Linked DNA regions of Homo sapiens: region 2 is linked to region 1. Evidence: promoter capture Hi-C in 16 types of primary human blood cells and fetal thymus (Javierre and others, 2016). All regions are on one chromosome and are shown on one strand. Each heading gives the region's core, a stretch centred on a gene start or on the middle of the fragment in contact. The rest is flanking DNA. Distances are from core to core; before and after follow the strand shown. Region 1 holds the start of BTN1A1 (butyrophilin subfamily 1 member A1). Region 2 has its middle 13 kb from the start of H2BC15.

What was found. Contacts are between HindIII fragments. The CHiCAGO score rates a contact against its expected background, and 5 or more counts as called.
Region 2: a contact is called between a fragment that was not itself captured here and the fragment with the promoter of BTN1A1 in region 1, in 1 of 17 cell types (activated CD4 T cells). The highest score is 6.0, in activated CD4 T cells.

Annotation. Positions count from the first base shown.
Region 1 is chr6:26,497,487-26,504,330 of GRCh38, reverse strand. It overlaps BTN1A1 (butyrophilin subfamily 1 member A1), which reads right to left and starts at 4,028. Exons shown (of 8, transcript NM_001732.3): 1 at 3,973-4,028; 2 at 2,966-3,101; 3 at 2,394-2,741. The coding sequence starts at 3,044. All of the region lies in intron 1 of LOC107986583 (a long non-coding RNA gene), which reads left to right. RefSeq lists an enhancer at 2,610-2,739. The HindIII fragment of the contact is 5,298 bases long and covers 1,425-6,722 here.
Region 2 is chr6:27,848,028-27,854,871 of GRCh38, reverse strand. No RefSeq gene overlaps it. Among named protein-coding and RNA genes, the nearest start is that of H2BC15, 13 kb to the right of the region's middle. The HindIII fragment of the contact is 588 bases long and covers 3,311-3,898 here.

The DNA.
Region 1 (6,844 bases), core at 2,779-5,278:
CAGAGGTGGGTTAGTGGTCTAGGCTGAGAGCATTATGAGAAGACTTTGGTGGGGAGGAGGAGAAATAGGACTGGGTATTTAAGGATGAACAGAGGAATATCCTTGAGGAGAGGATTGGCGATTCTTTGGCTTGAGATTATAGTTGACAATTTAAGCTTTCTTTATCTATGATGTTGATTCAGAAATTTTCTTAAATGGTCTCAACTTCATATTCCCTCACATAATTGTGGCCTGTTATATATAAACATAAAGCTGCTTTTCTTGTGTGTTTAGCCTATTTTTTTCTGTAATTCCACATGGTACAGAAAAACACTGAGCTGCATAAAAGAGCTCTTAAACACATTTCCACAACCACTGGTTAAAATCCACATTCCAAGAATGTGTGTATATACAAGAATATATATTCTTTTCATGGAAGGAGCTGCCACTTTCAGCAGATTCTCAAGGGTGTCTGCCACTCATAAAAGGTAACACATTTTATGCCATCAAATTTCTATGTTTTTATAATCAAGCTTTAAGATACTTCTTCCCTAAAAACAAAATGTCAAAATTTGAATTATACATGATGCTGCAACTGGGGGACCCTGTTGTGAAGCAGGGACCCACATTTCACCCAAGTATTTTTCAAACTTTATATTTACTTGAATATATATCTATGTATATATATATATAATATATGCATATAGATTTAGATAATATATACATATATGATATATATGTGAAAGGCAATATGTTTGTATATTATATGTTTTAGATCAGTTTAAGGCACAGTATAGTATCTAATAAGTCTATAATGTTTTTAGAATTGGCGAGGTCATTTCTCATATATTGTCTAATTTTATTTTATTCTTTTTTTTTTTGTTAGAGACGAGTCTCACTCTGTTGCCCAGGCTGGAGTGCAGTAGTGCAGTCTCAGCTCACTGCAACCTCTGCCTCCCAGGTTCAAGCGATTTTCCTTGAGTAGCTGGGATTACAGGTATGACCCAGCTAATTTCTTTTTGTATTTTTAGTAGAGATGGGGTTTTGCCATGTTGGCCAGGCTGGTCTTGAATATCCTGATCAAAAGTGAGTCACCCGCCTTGGCCTCCCAAAATGCTGGGATTACAGGCGTGAGACACCACATCCCACTTTTTTTTTTTCTTTTTTTGACAGCACACTCTATTGTCCAGGCTGGAGTGCAGTGGCAACCATCAGCTTACTGTAACCTTGAATTTCTTGGCTCAAGAGATCCTCCTGCCTCTGCTTCCCAAAGCGCTGAGATTATAGGAGTTGGCCACTGGTCCCAGACTATTTTATTCTTGAAAAATAATCTTAGATAAAAACATCCTCAGTTTTACAGTAAAAATCAGAAAGAGATTTGCTTGATGTCATTCACTAGGAATTGAGAAAGTCAGACCTCAATGCGTACTTTCCTCCTCAAAGCTTATTATTTTCTTTATTGTTTCCCTTTGAATTCTGGCTTGAAGCAAAAAAGGGAACAAGAACAGAATCTTTTCTATATGAATCAGGAATGTGACAAACCGCCATGCTCTCTAATCTTAGGATGTCAGTCTTTAGAAACTAATCCATAAGCCAGCCTTAAAGTGTGTGGTATGCTCACCACAGCCATAAGATGTGTAATGGTGAGAAATACAATTTAAATGTACAATTCAGGGACTCGATGAAGTAAATTATGGTGTACTTGTATAAAAGAATGTTATATAACTCTTATATGTATTTAATTATTTCATGAAGAAATGCTTACCCTATTATTGAAAAAGGGCTGGAGATAATTGAAATAAAGTTCTACAATAAAGACATTGCACTGTTCTCTCCATGTTCAACTCAAAACCCTTTCTCACTGATTTCCTACTGTAGGACCTTCAGTACCTTCTAGCTGTGGAGTCCTAATCAGGGGAAAACAAAGAGATAAGGCAGATAAGCTGCAAGTCTGCCTTTCTTCATGGTCCAGTACACAGCCCTCCTGTGCAAATAACTCACAGTCATCCTTCCTGTGTCCAACTATCACCAAACACCTGCAAGTTAGCTCACTGCAACCTTTGCCTTATAGATACTGCACAAAGCCATCTTCAACAGACAGCATAAAAACTATTCTATAAATTATCCAGCAAGCCTTTGTTTCCTGGCAGTCAGCTTCTCTTTTGCTGATCCTGCCTTTTGCCTCCTCGAAAAGTATTTTCATACTTTTAAAAGTAAATCTGCCTTTCTTTACAACTGTCTTGGTAAATTCTTTTACCCCCCCTCGCCTCCCGCCCAGATAGTCGTCCCTCCCCGGCGACATCAACCTAAAAGAGATTTTGAGAATGAATCTGATGGTTTCCAAAGTAACTGATCCATACGAAAGTGTATACAGCAGGGGAGTCGTCGGAGAAAGTCAAAACCCGTCTACTCACCAGCCACCTTCAGATGCACCAGGGCTTCTTCGTAGCTTCCATCCTCCCTGAAAAAGCACGTGTACTCCCCGTCGTCAGAGACTCTGACGCCACGGATCCTCAAGGCCACGCGCCCCTTGGCGATGCCGTCCTGGACCAGCGTCGCCCGCCCGCGGTACTCGGGCATCTGCTCGGCTTCCTGCTCGCGCCCGTCCCTATGCACCAGCACGGCCGGCGAAACCTTCTTTCGGAACCAGCGTAGCTCCAAGTGCTCGGCGCTCGCGTTCGGAGACAGGCGACAGGGCAGCTCGGCGTCCTCACCCACAACGGCCAGGATGGGCTCCGGGGGTCCAATCACGTCAAAGGGAGCTGCCGAAAAACGAGCGGGATCAGACGGGATGTGGAGATGGGAACTACGGACAGACACCGACCAGATTCCCGCCAAAGCGCAGTGCCCCGCGCTCTCTTACTCCTTTGACAGCTGAGTTTGTCTGGATCCAGTGGAGGTCTCCAGGGAGAGCCAAGTGGGATTGTTTATTTTACATTTATTGATATATTTCAACTATGCAGCCCAGAGAGAGAGAGAGACTTACCTGAATCCAGTTTGGGCAGCTGGAGGAGAATGAGGGTGAGCAGACATCTGGGGAGACCGGAGCTTGGGAAAACTGCCATCTCCCACCCTTCTGGAGCAGCAAGATAACTGATGTGAGTCCCCTCAGGAGCTTCAGCCTAGGAGATGAATGGACAGGAGACAACTACCGGCTCTGTCAACCCTCCGCTTTCCAAAGTCCTCTCTACAGTTCTTTCCAGCTGCAAGTGTTCTGGTCATTTGCCCCTGAAACCTCCTCTCAGCCTCCATCCCCAGTATGGATTTTTAGTTTACACTGTGGTTATCACCTTCCCACCCACTACTCTAACTCTAAAACTTAGGAGAAGGGAACTGTGAGGCATAACACTCATTAGTTGGTTGCATATCGATGAACAAATCTTGGAATCACTGCACTAAAAAAAAAGTCTCCTTTTTATTTATTTATTTATTTATTTTTGAGACAGTCTTGCTCTGTTGCCCAGCTTGGAGTGCAGTGGCATGATCTCGGCTCAATGCAACCTCAGCCTCCTGGGTTCAAGCGATTGTTCTGCCTCAGCCTCCGGAGTAGCTGGGACTACAGGCGCGCACCACCATGCCCCGCTATTTTTTGTATTTTCAGTAGAGACGGAGTTTCACCACGTTGGCCAGGCTGGCCTCGAACTCCTGACCTCGTGATCCACCCGCCTTGGCCTCCCAAAGTGCTGGGATTACAGGCGTGAGCCACCGTGCCTGGCCAAAGTCTTTTTTCAAATACAAGAATTTGGTATTTGCTTTTGGCAATGATAATAAAGATAAGGGTATAAAGGCAGAAATGGAGTCCAAGGAAATGAATTGGAGAAGAGAGAAAAGATGGGAGGAGATGGAGCAAGAAGCAGGAGCTGAAGCAAGCAAAAGGGCTTGAAGAGTAGAGGGCCTAGGACCAAGGAGAAAGGAGCTGGAGGGAGAGAAGTATGCTATGCCCCTCTGGCTGCTCACTCCCTCAGGGAGCTGAGAGTAACCACACATACTGACCTGGGTGATCTTGGAGAAAAAGGCACAAGAGGCCACTGCTACCAAGTGAGAAAGCTGGCTGTGGCCCCCGGGGCAAAAGTTAAAAGCCAGCAGGAAAAGGAAGCGGGAGGTGCTCTCAGGAAAGCCTGCCTCCAGGTGGCCTGGTATATTCACTCTGAGGAAAAAAAAAAGGGAGATGAAAAGTTTTTCAGAGAGATGGAAAACTGGATTTGTGGTCTTCAGCTCAGAAATCAAGATATGCATTGATGAGCTGGACCAAATGAAAGGCAGAAAAGAGAAAAAGAGAAGAGAGGCAAGGAAACACACAAATGAGATGTGATGGCTTCAGCCAGTTATTTCCTCTTTCCAAGCCTCAGTTCTTTGATCTCTAAAATGGTAATAATATTGATCATACCTTTCTTGAAGAGGTGTTGGGAGGATTAAGTGAGATTAAGCAGGTAAAGTGCTTAGCACATAGTAGGAACTCAGCGGAGGATAAATTGTTATTCTATTATTATTTCTGCGGGTTGAAAAATGAAAGCCCAGAGGCCAAGGTAGCAGTAGCCTCTGTCTATAGCCATCTTCGTTATTGGAGCGTCCGTCCACCTTAGGTGCTGTGTCTGTTGGAACAACTCCATTAAAGGCCAGTCTTAAGGGTAGGCTGTGAATTCTGTTTACAGGGCCCAAAAGTTGCCTCCCTGACAATTATTTCTTTTGAAGCAACTCATCATGAGGCCTACAATTCCTTAATTTATACTAAACCTACCTCTCATTGTTATGAAAAAATTTAAAAATACAGAAAAATATTTTTATAAAATGGAGGTCACACTTAATCTACTAACTAATGATAGCCTCAATTCACATTTTGGCATAGTCCTTCCAAGATTTATTTTATGCTTATGTATATCATAAAAGCAATCAATTAGACTTTTTGTGTAACTCAAAATATTGTTAATAGTTGTATAATTGCCATGATTGTGGGACATTTGGGATTTTTTTCCTATTGTAAATAATACACTTTATATATAAGTCTTTATTTGCAAATTGGATAATGTCCTGATAAACTGTTTAATAAATTTCCAGAAATAGAGTCATCAGATCAAATGGTATAAGCATATTTCTTTTCTTTTCTTTTTTTTTTTGAGACGGAATCTCACTCTGTCGCCTAGGCTGGAGTGCAGTGGCGTAATCTTGGCTCACTGCAACCTCCGCCTCCAGGGTTCAAAGGATTTTCCTCTTGCCTCAGCCTCCTGAGTAGCTGAGATTACAGGCACGTGCCACCATGCCCAACTAATTTTTGTATTTTAGTGGAGACAGGGTTTCACCATGTTGGCCAGGCTGGTCTCGAACTCCTGAGCTTCAATGATCTGCTTGCCTTGGTCTCCCAAAGTGCTGGGATTACAGGTGTGAGCCACCATGCCCGACCTAGTATCAGCATATTTCTACAGTCCCTTCCTGAAATGTTGAATCCATCACACCCTCAATGGAGGTGCCCTCACCTAATCCCTGCTAGCACTGAGAAGTTATTATTTCACATCCTTACTATTGGGATGGGTCAAGTTAATTAAATTATTATTTATTGTGCCTTTATATGTTAGCGAGGCTGGAGTTTTTTATGTGTTAATTAGACATTTAATACATTCTAGAAATGAGCTGTTCAGGCCAGTTGCCCATTGTTTTCAAGACTGGTCCTGGTGCTAGTTCTTAGCAATCTGTGTGAATTTTAATAACTTAAAAATATCAATCCTGTATTATATTTGTAACAAACATTCTTCCCAGTTTTGTTATTTATCTTTGAGTTGGAATTGTGATTAAGACAAAAGACAGTTGCTCCATTTCACCCACCAGACTGCCAAGAGAATGATCTTTCCCAAATGCAAATCTGATCATATCACTTTTTGCTTAAAAATCCTTCCACATCTCCCTAGTGACTTCAGCATCAAGTTTATGCACCTTAATCTGGTTAGGAAAATACTGTAGGTCTAGCTTGATCTGGTCAAGAAAATACTCTGGCAGTCTCCTTGCTTCTTTCCTGAGGGCTTTTTCTCCATTCCCCTTCTCCTTCCCTGCTTGTCCACCCACAGGCTGAATTTGGAGTGGGTGTGGTTACCTCAACCCACAATGCCTCTCAGGCCTCCAGATAGCAGTGCTTGCCTTCCCCCTTCCAGAATATTCTGTCTCTTCTTAACTTTTTTTTTTTTTTTTTTTTGAGATGGAGTCTCACTTTGTCACCCAGGCTGGAGGGCAGTGGCACAATTTCAGCTCACTGCAACCTCTGACTCCCAGGTTCAAGCATTTCTCCTGCCTTAGCCTCCCAAGTAGCTGGGACTACAGGCGTGCCCCACCACGCCTGGCTTTGTTGGTATTTTTGGTAGAGGTGGGGTTTCCCAATGTTGGCCAGGCTGGTTTTGAACTCCTGACCTCAAGTGATACACCCGCCTCGGTCTCCCAAAGTGCTGGGATTATAGGTGTGAGCCACCGCGACTAGCCTGTTCCCTCTTATCTTTATGATGAACTCCTATTCTTCCCTCAAAAGCTCATGTAAGGGCTGCACCTTCTGCAATGTCTTTCAGACATTGCATCAAGCAGATGCAACCTCACTTCTAGGGCTTCTCCTGATTAGCCTTTGTCCCCTCCAAGAGAAGTAGGCTTTCCTGGAAGATGGGCCAGGTGTATCCTGTGACACTTGGTCCCTTTCTCATGGCAGACACCTGATCTGAGCCCTAGTTTCAGAAGCAGATGTGTTTATTGTCATCTTTTGTTTCCAAGCTTGTCTTCCCCTCTTAAACTGAGCTTTCCTAGTTCTTACTCCCTGTCTTCTCATCAGCACATAGACTGAAATAGAATTTGTGGCTTCATTCAAACCCATCGTTCCTTAGCCTTCCTAGTTTGA
Region 2 (6,844 bases), core at 2,355-4,854, 1.4 Mb before region 1:
CAAAGTACAACACCAGGACAGAAAGAAGCAACAATTGCATTAAAAGACATGAAGGTAGCTGAAAGGGAGAAGCATCCCTTAGAAAGGCAGGATGGTCTTCAGGGATTGGATCCAGCAAAAATAGATTGCAGAATTACCCGAGGACAGAAGTGGTGAAGCCATTTCATTGCAGATGTCACTTAGTTCTCTGATGGCTTGAGAAGGATCATCTTAATGTGAAAAGTGGTGGCTATAGATAGTTCTGAAAAACAAGGCAGAAGTGAAAGTTCTTTCTGAAGTGAAAGATGTGATTGAACAGATGAGAGGTTTGATTAAAATGTCCCAGATGGTAAAGTGAATATATTTTGATGGTTCAATATTAAGCTCTTTGGTGACAAAAATATAGTCAAGATGAATTGCCTAGCCTTCAAGAGATTTGATTCAAATATGACATGTAGTTTCTAAGGTACCTACTATTTCTTTTACCACTAGCCTAGCCTTCAAGAGATTTGATTCCAATATGACATGCACTTTTTAAGGTACTTGCTATTTCTTCTACCAATAAGGTAGTGCAATTAATGTCTGTATTTTTATTTTAGACTTCACAGACACTTGAACTATAAAAGTCATTGATTTAAATTTTGAAACATGATTTCTTGATCCAACAATACATTGTTTAATCTTTTCCTCTAGTTCTATGGCTAAGTATTTATTTATATTTAATTTAGCAACTCACTTCTTTGGTGGTGATACACAACTGAACCAACATGGCAACTAATTTCCTAACTTAAACATCGTTAGTGAGAATTTGAATTATTTATATGGGAAACCCATCCCTGGACCAGAGAGTATGACGGCACTGATCTATATCATTTTATACAACTGCATTTTGAAGATTTTAAGAATTGGAAGCCCTATGATAATTTAGTTATTGATATTTTTAAAACATGTTAACAAATACTATACCATTGATTCTATTTTTAGTAATTATTTTCAGTAATGGTAGACCAGACATCTTAGATCAACCCTCATGCTAACTAGAAAACAATCTGATTGGAACTGTAGGGGAGGGAAGACTCCCTCTGCCCTCTGAGGGTTTGATAATTAAGTGTATGAAATAAATTGACAGCAGGCAGATTAATAAGAGAAAGATATAAAAATTTATTTTGTGGCCGGGCGTGGTGGCTCACGCCTGTAATCCCAGCACTTTGGGAGGCCAAGGCGGGCGGATCACGAGGTCAGGAGATCGAGACCATCCTAGCTAACACAGTGAAACCCCATCGGTACTGAAAACACAAAAAAATTAGCCGGGCATGGTGGCGGGCGCCTGTAGTCCCAGCTACTCAGGAGGCTGGGGCAGGAGAATGGCCTAAACCCCGGAGGCGGAGCTTGCAGTGAGCCGAGATCGCGCCACTGCACTCCAGCCTGGGAGACGCGGCAAGACTCCGTCTCGAAAAAAAAAAATTTTATTTTGTGCATGGAGGTATCACATGAAAAATAAGTGAATGCCCCCCAAGCCCAGTGAGATCTAGAAGCTTATATACTGTCTTCATAGGGAAGACAGGAAGGGGGATGTAGGCAATGTAGGGGAGAGGAAATTATTTTTGGGAAAGATGAATGGGCCCTCCAAAGAACAGGTGACTGTCTGTGACAAAGTTTATCTTGCATAGTATCAACTTCCAGTCTCCTCTCCTGTGATACGAGTTAATCTTCCCTAGAATACATATATATATGCTTATAATAAACAACAGAAGGATATATCATAACATTTAAAATTATTACTCTAAGGTAAGAGAGGCTATTAGGATGAAGGAGAAAGATTTCTTTGGATATAATTTGATTTGACCTTGGGACTATGTAAAAATATTTTATGTAACGGTAGAAACAAATATTAAAAAGTCCAATCCCTAGACATCAACAGCAAAATGAAGTTAATATTCCCTAAGAATACATACATATATGCTTATAATAAACAACAGAAGGATATATCATAACCTTTAAAATTATTACTCTAAGGCAAGAGAGGCTATTAGCATGAAGGAGAAAGATTTCTTTGGATATAATTTGATTTGACCTTGGGACTATGTAAAAATATTTTATGTAATGATAGAACCAAACATTAAAAAGTCCAATCCTAGACATCAACAGCAAAACAAAGTAAATGGATCTGTATATCTAGATCATAACATAAGTGTGCAGGAAGGGATACTCCAAATACTTTGAAAAATAGTCATTTGAACACAAATGAACATTACTAGTGTGGTATATACCCTAAGGCAGCAGTTCTTGAACCTTCTGGTCTCATGACCCACTTACACTCTTAAAAAGTAATGAAGTGATGCAGATGATAATTTGAGGATGCCTTGGGAATTAGAGTTCGGATGCCAGCAATGACAGTCATTAAAATAAAATATGTTCTCCTTAAATAATATTTCAGTGAACAAAACACCAAGGAGTTTTCCAGGGAGCTCTCTTTTGAACCTTGATCTATAGCATATTAGGTGGTGGAGCTTTGCAATCCAAAGAATTTGTGTTTCTGTAGGTTATAACTATTGACATTTACCGTATTATATAGTAAAACAAAAAAATTTGGTTAATTCATTTAAAAATAACAGTAATAAACCCATTTTATGTTAGCATACATATTTTATGAAAAATAGCTATTTTTTAAAATAAAAAGAGTGACACTGTTTTACAATTTTGCAAATCTCTCTAATGCCTTGTTTAATAAAAGAAAGCTGAATTCTTCTTTCTGCATTCAATCTCTTGCAATATAAATGTCATCTGAAAATAATAATGAAAAAGAAAAATTAGTGTCAGAATTAGTATGAAATAATATTAGCCCACAGACCCACTACAAGGGCCTCAGGGGTCCCCAGACCACATTTTGAAATTAACTGCAATTGTTGCCATTATAGAAATCACTGTCCTTAGGACAAAAAAAAAAGCAAACATTTTTTGAAAATTATTTTCTTAGTAACAATATTGTTGGTGACACTGGTGGGGATGGCTATGGCAGAAGCTGATGCAGATGATAATTTGAGAATGCCTTGGGAATTAGAGTTTGGATTCCCAGCAATGACAGCCACTAAGATGAAATAAGCTCTCCTAACATAACATTTCAGTGAACAAAGCACCAAGGAGTTTTCCAGGGAGCTCTCTTTTGAACCTTGTTCTACAGCTTGGTGGGAGGTGGAGTTTTCCCCAAGGTAAATACAATAGAACCTTACAAATGGAAGGATGGGACCCTCCTGGAGAGCATGATGCTCATCTCAGAGATGTAGGGCACAATGACCTAGGAGAAGACAAATCCTAGAACACAGTGTAAGCTTCTTATTCAGCTCATCATACTGTTTGTTCCAATTGATTATCATCATGGATTGCTGGCATTTTACATGCTGAATCTATTCCAATTGACAACTGTAAGTGTTCTGTTTAACTAAAATTCTCAAGTTAGCCATACTAATTATTAGTGGGGATTCTTTCAGGCTTTCTTGCCTCTCTCCTGCCCTAACTTACTTTTTATTGCTTCTCCAGACATCTGAGATTATCCTCACCTTCCGTCAGCATGATGTCCTACACTCATTAGGATTTCCTATTCCCCAAAACTTGTAATTGGATCCTCTTCAAGAACGTTGGGTTCTTGACTAGAAACTAAAAATATCTACACTACGGTTTACGTTACATTGTTTTCTGTGTGCACTGATGCACCTGGTTGACTTATGGGACTTTTAGATGATATTTAGTGACAGATTTAAAACACTGACTTTTTTTCTTTTATTTCCTCCTCTCTCACATATCAAAGAACACTGTTTTTAGAGGATGAGTGCATGTTACTCCTTTCACTGAATGTCCTTTATCCTTCCTAAAAAGTTTTCCTTTTTAAATCTAACTCACTTTTCTTCACGATCAAAAAGCTTCATTCTTCTCTGTCATAAAAACAATTCCCTTACCAAGGTTAATTTACTATATTGTGGGTTAATTTAAATAACGTGTTTAAAGAACAATATTATTTAAAATTTTAGAACGCACACAATGGACTTTTATCCACGTATTATTAAAGTCACAGTAGTGACTTTAACATTCTACATTGAGCTTTTAGGACAACTAATATACTCCACAGCTAATAAATGCATGTAGTTACCGTGGGTTTTTTTTGTACTTTATAATTCTAAATGATGCCTCCCAGTTTTTATTATGTGTATAGCAGTTGTTTGAAAAGAAAATGAAATGGAATTTTAATTTTCTAACACTCTTACTCCAAGAGAACAACAAAATTACAAAGGTATCATTGATGTTCAGTTTATTATTATTCCATTAACTCCGTTAAATATAATATGAATAATAAATTGAGTGTATGTATGTGTAAAGTGTGTCATTTGGCTCACAGAATATGTAGCTAAACCATCAAAAGATTGGACCTATCTGTATTCTCCACCTTGCTGCTGAGATGAGCTTCATGAGCATACAATAATGTGGCCACATATAAATACCTTAATATACACAGAATTTGTTGATAATCTACAGTTTATTTTCAAGATGTCGATTTAAAATGCTGGAAAAAGTAATTAAATTATGATCAAGCTACAAAGCATTAAAATTAATATCTAGAATTATTTTTTAAAGTCCAGTGTAATATTTACAATGCTATCTCCAAAATTTTAGTGCAATTATTTATATAGTTCAATATTCTTGAAACACCATTTCACAAGAACCAACTAGTAAACGATACTAGTATACTTGGGCTATAATGTATTTTAGGTGCAACTCCACATATATATTCACTTCACATGCACAAACTTCTAATATTAATTAAGGTAATTGAGATGTAAATTTACAGGTTTTTTTTCTTTGAAAAGTGCAGAGACTTTAGAAGTTATAATTACCGGACATCCTAGTCCTATGTAAAACTTGAATTTCTGCATGAATAGGCCATGTCTATACTCTCAGTTTTATATTCTGTATTAATTCTACTATTAAAGCAAACATGATATAAAACATAGCCTTAAGAAATTAAAACACACACAAAAAAATCCCTTAATATATTAATGGATACTTTTCTTCATTCTAAGCATCTGAAGAAATCCTCTGGGAAATAGTTTGTATCTATGTTTTAGTATAACATATTAAACTAAAATTATTATTTGTAAAGTAGTGTCTAATATAATATGGCTTCCAGAAAGATATAGTCCATACCTATTTAGCTTTGAATGCGAGGCTTTAAGCAAAAATTCAAAGTGCCTCTCCTTTCCATATCTCAAGACCACAGCCTGAAAGACTTTTAATGGGCAACCACTAGTTTTTATCTTGGGAATATTGCAAATTAAACAAATTAGGTCACCAATATGTACCTTCATATGCAATTTGAACAAAAGGGAAATACCGCAGTAAGTGGTTAATTGGTCAAATAGTGTATTTTTTTGTTCTTGAGTAACAAGATGTTTTTCAGAAGTTTAGTAGCTAAATAGATAAGAAATACATAAACAACTATATATTGCCCCCCCCCTTTTTTTTTTTTTAAGACAGAATTTTGCTCTTGTGGCCCAGGCTGGAGTGCAATGGCACGATCTCAGCTCACTGCAACCTCTGCCTCCCGGGTTCAAGTGATTCTCCTGCCCAGCCTCCCGAGTAGCTGGGGTTACAGGTATGCGCCACCACACCTGGCAAATTTTGTATTTTTAGTAGAGATGGGGTTTCTCCATGTTGGTCAAGCTGGTCTCGAACTCCCGATCTCAGGTGATCCGCCCGCCTTGGCCTCCCAAAGTGCTGCGATTACAGGTGTGAGCCACTGTGTCTAGCCTATATTGCCTTTTAATTCTTGTTTTTTACAATGATGGCAATCCATAATGTTATTCAATTGTTGTTTAATCCTTTCATAAGAATGTTATTCTAGTTTTTCTGGTAATTAAAAAGACAGCTCTGGAAACTTCCGTAGACTTACCTATAAATCTGTTATTGTTTTGATTTCATATCACTTTTAAAGATTGTGTACATTTTGTTTTGTTTTTTTAAGTAATGTGGTCCAGCTAGTCACCCAGGCTGAAATGCAGTGGGGCCATCCTAGCTTACTGCAGCCTTGAACTTCTGGGCTCAAGCTATCTTCCTACTCCAGCCTCCCAAGTAGCTGGGACTATAGACATGAGGCACCTCTCCTAGCTTCACTTTTAAAGGTTTTAAAATCTAATCTTTCTCTGGTTTTAGCTTGCTTAATACAAAATTCAATTATGTTCTATAGGAAAAATTTCCTCTACTTTGGGATCTTGGCAGTGATCCTCCTAGAAATGGTGATGGGCAAAACAAAAGGCTTTTGATTTTGTTGAAATGTGTTTGATAGGCTACATTAAAGCCACAGCACAAAGAAACCTTGTAGAGCAAAGGAATAAAGAAATTATTGATGAAACTCTGAATCCTGGAAGGAAACTCAAAGATCATCTTACTAAACCCTACCTTTATTTACATTTGAAGGAATGGAAACCAAGAAGTATTTGTGAAAAACATGCTGTCACGCCAGAACCCAGATCTCTGGGATTCCTGTCCAATGTGTGTGTGTGTGTGTGTGTGTGTGTGTGTGTGTGTGTGTTTGAGAGAGAGAGACAGTGTGAGAGTAGGAGAAAAAGCAGGAGGAGGGGAAGGCGAAAAGGGAGAGAGAAAGCACAATTCTCTCATTCCATATATGTATTGAGTGCCTACTATATGTCAGGGATACACCAATAAATGATATGGATTGTAACACATATTTACTTTTGTAAATGAGCAATTCTATTATAAAAGATAAATATGCTTTTAGTTAGTAAAATGTAGGCAAAAATGCTTAAGATGTTTTAAGTAGACATAAGTAGTTAGTAAAAAGAGCATATGTTGTTAA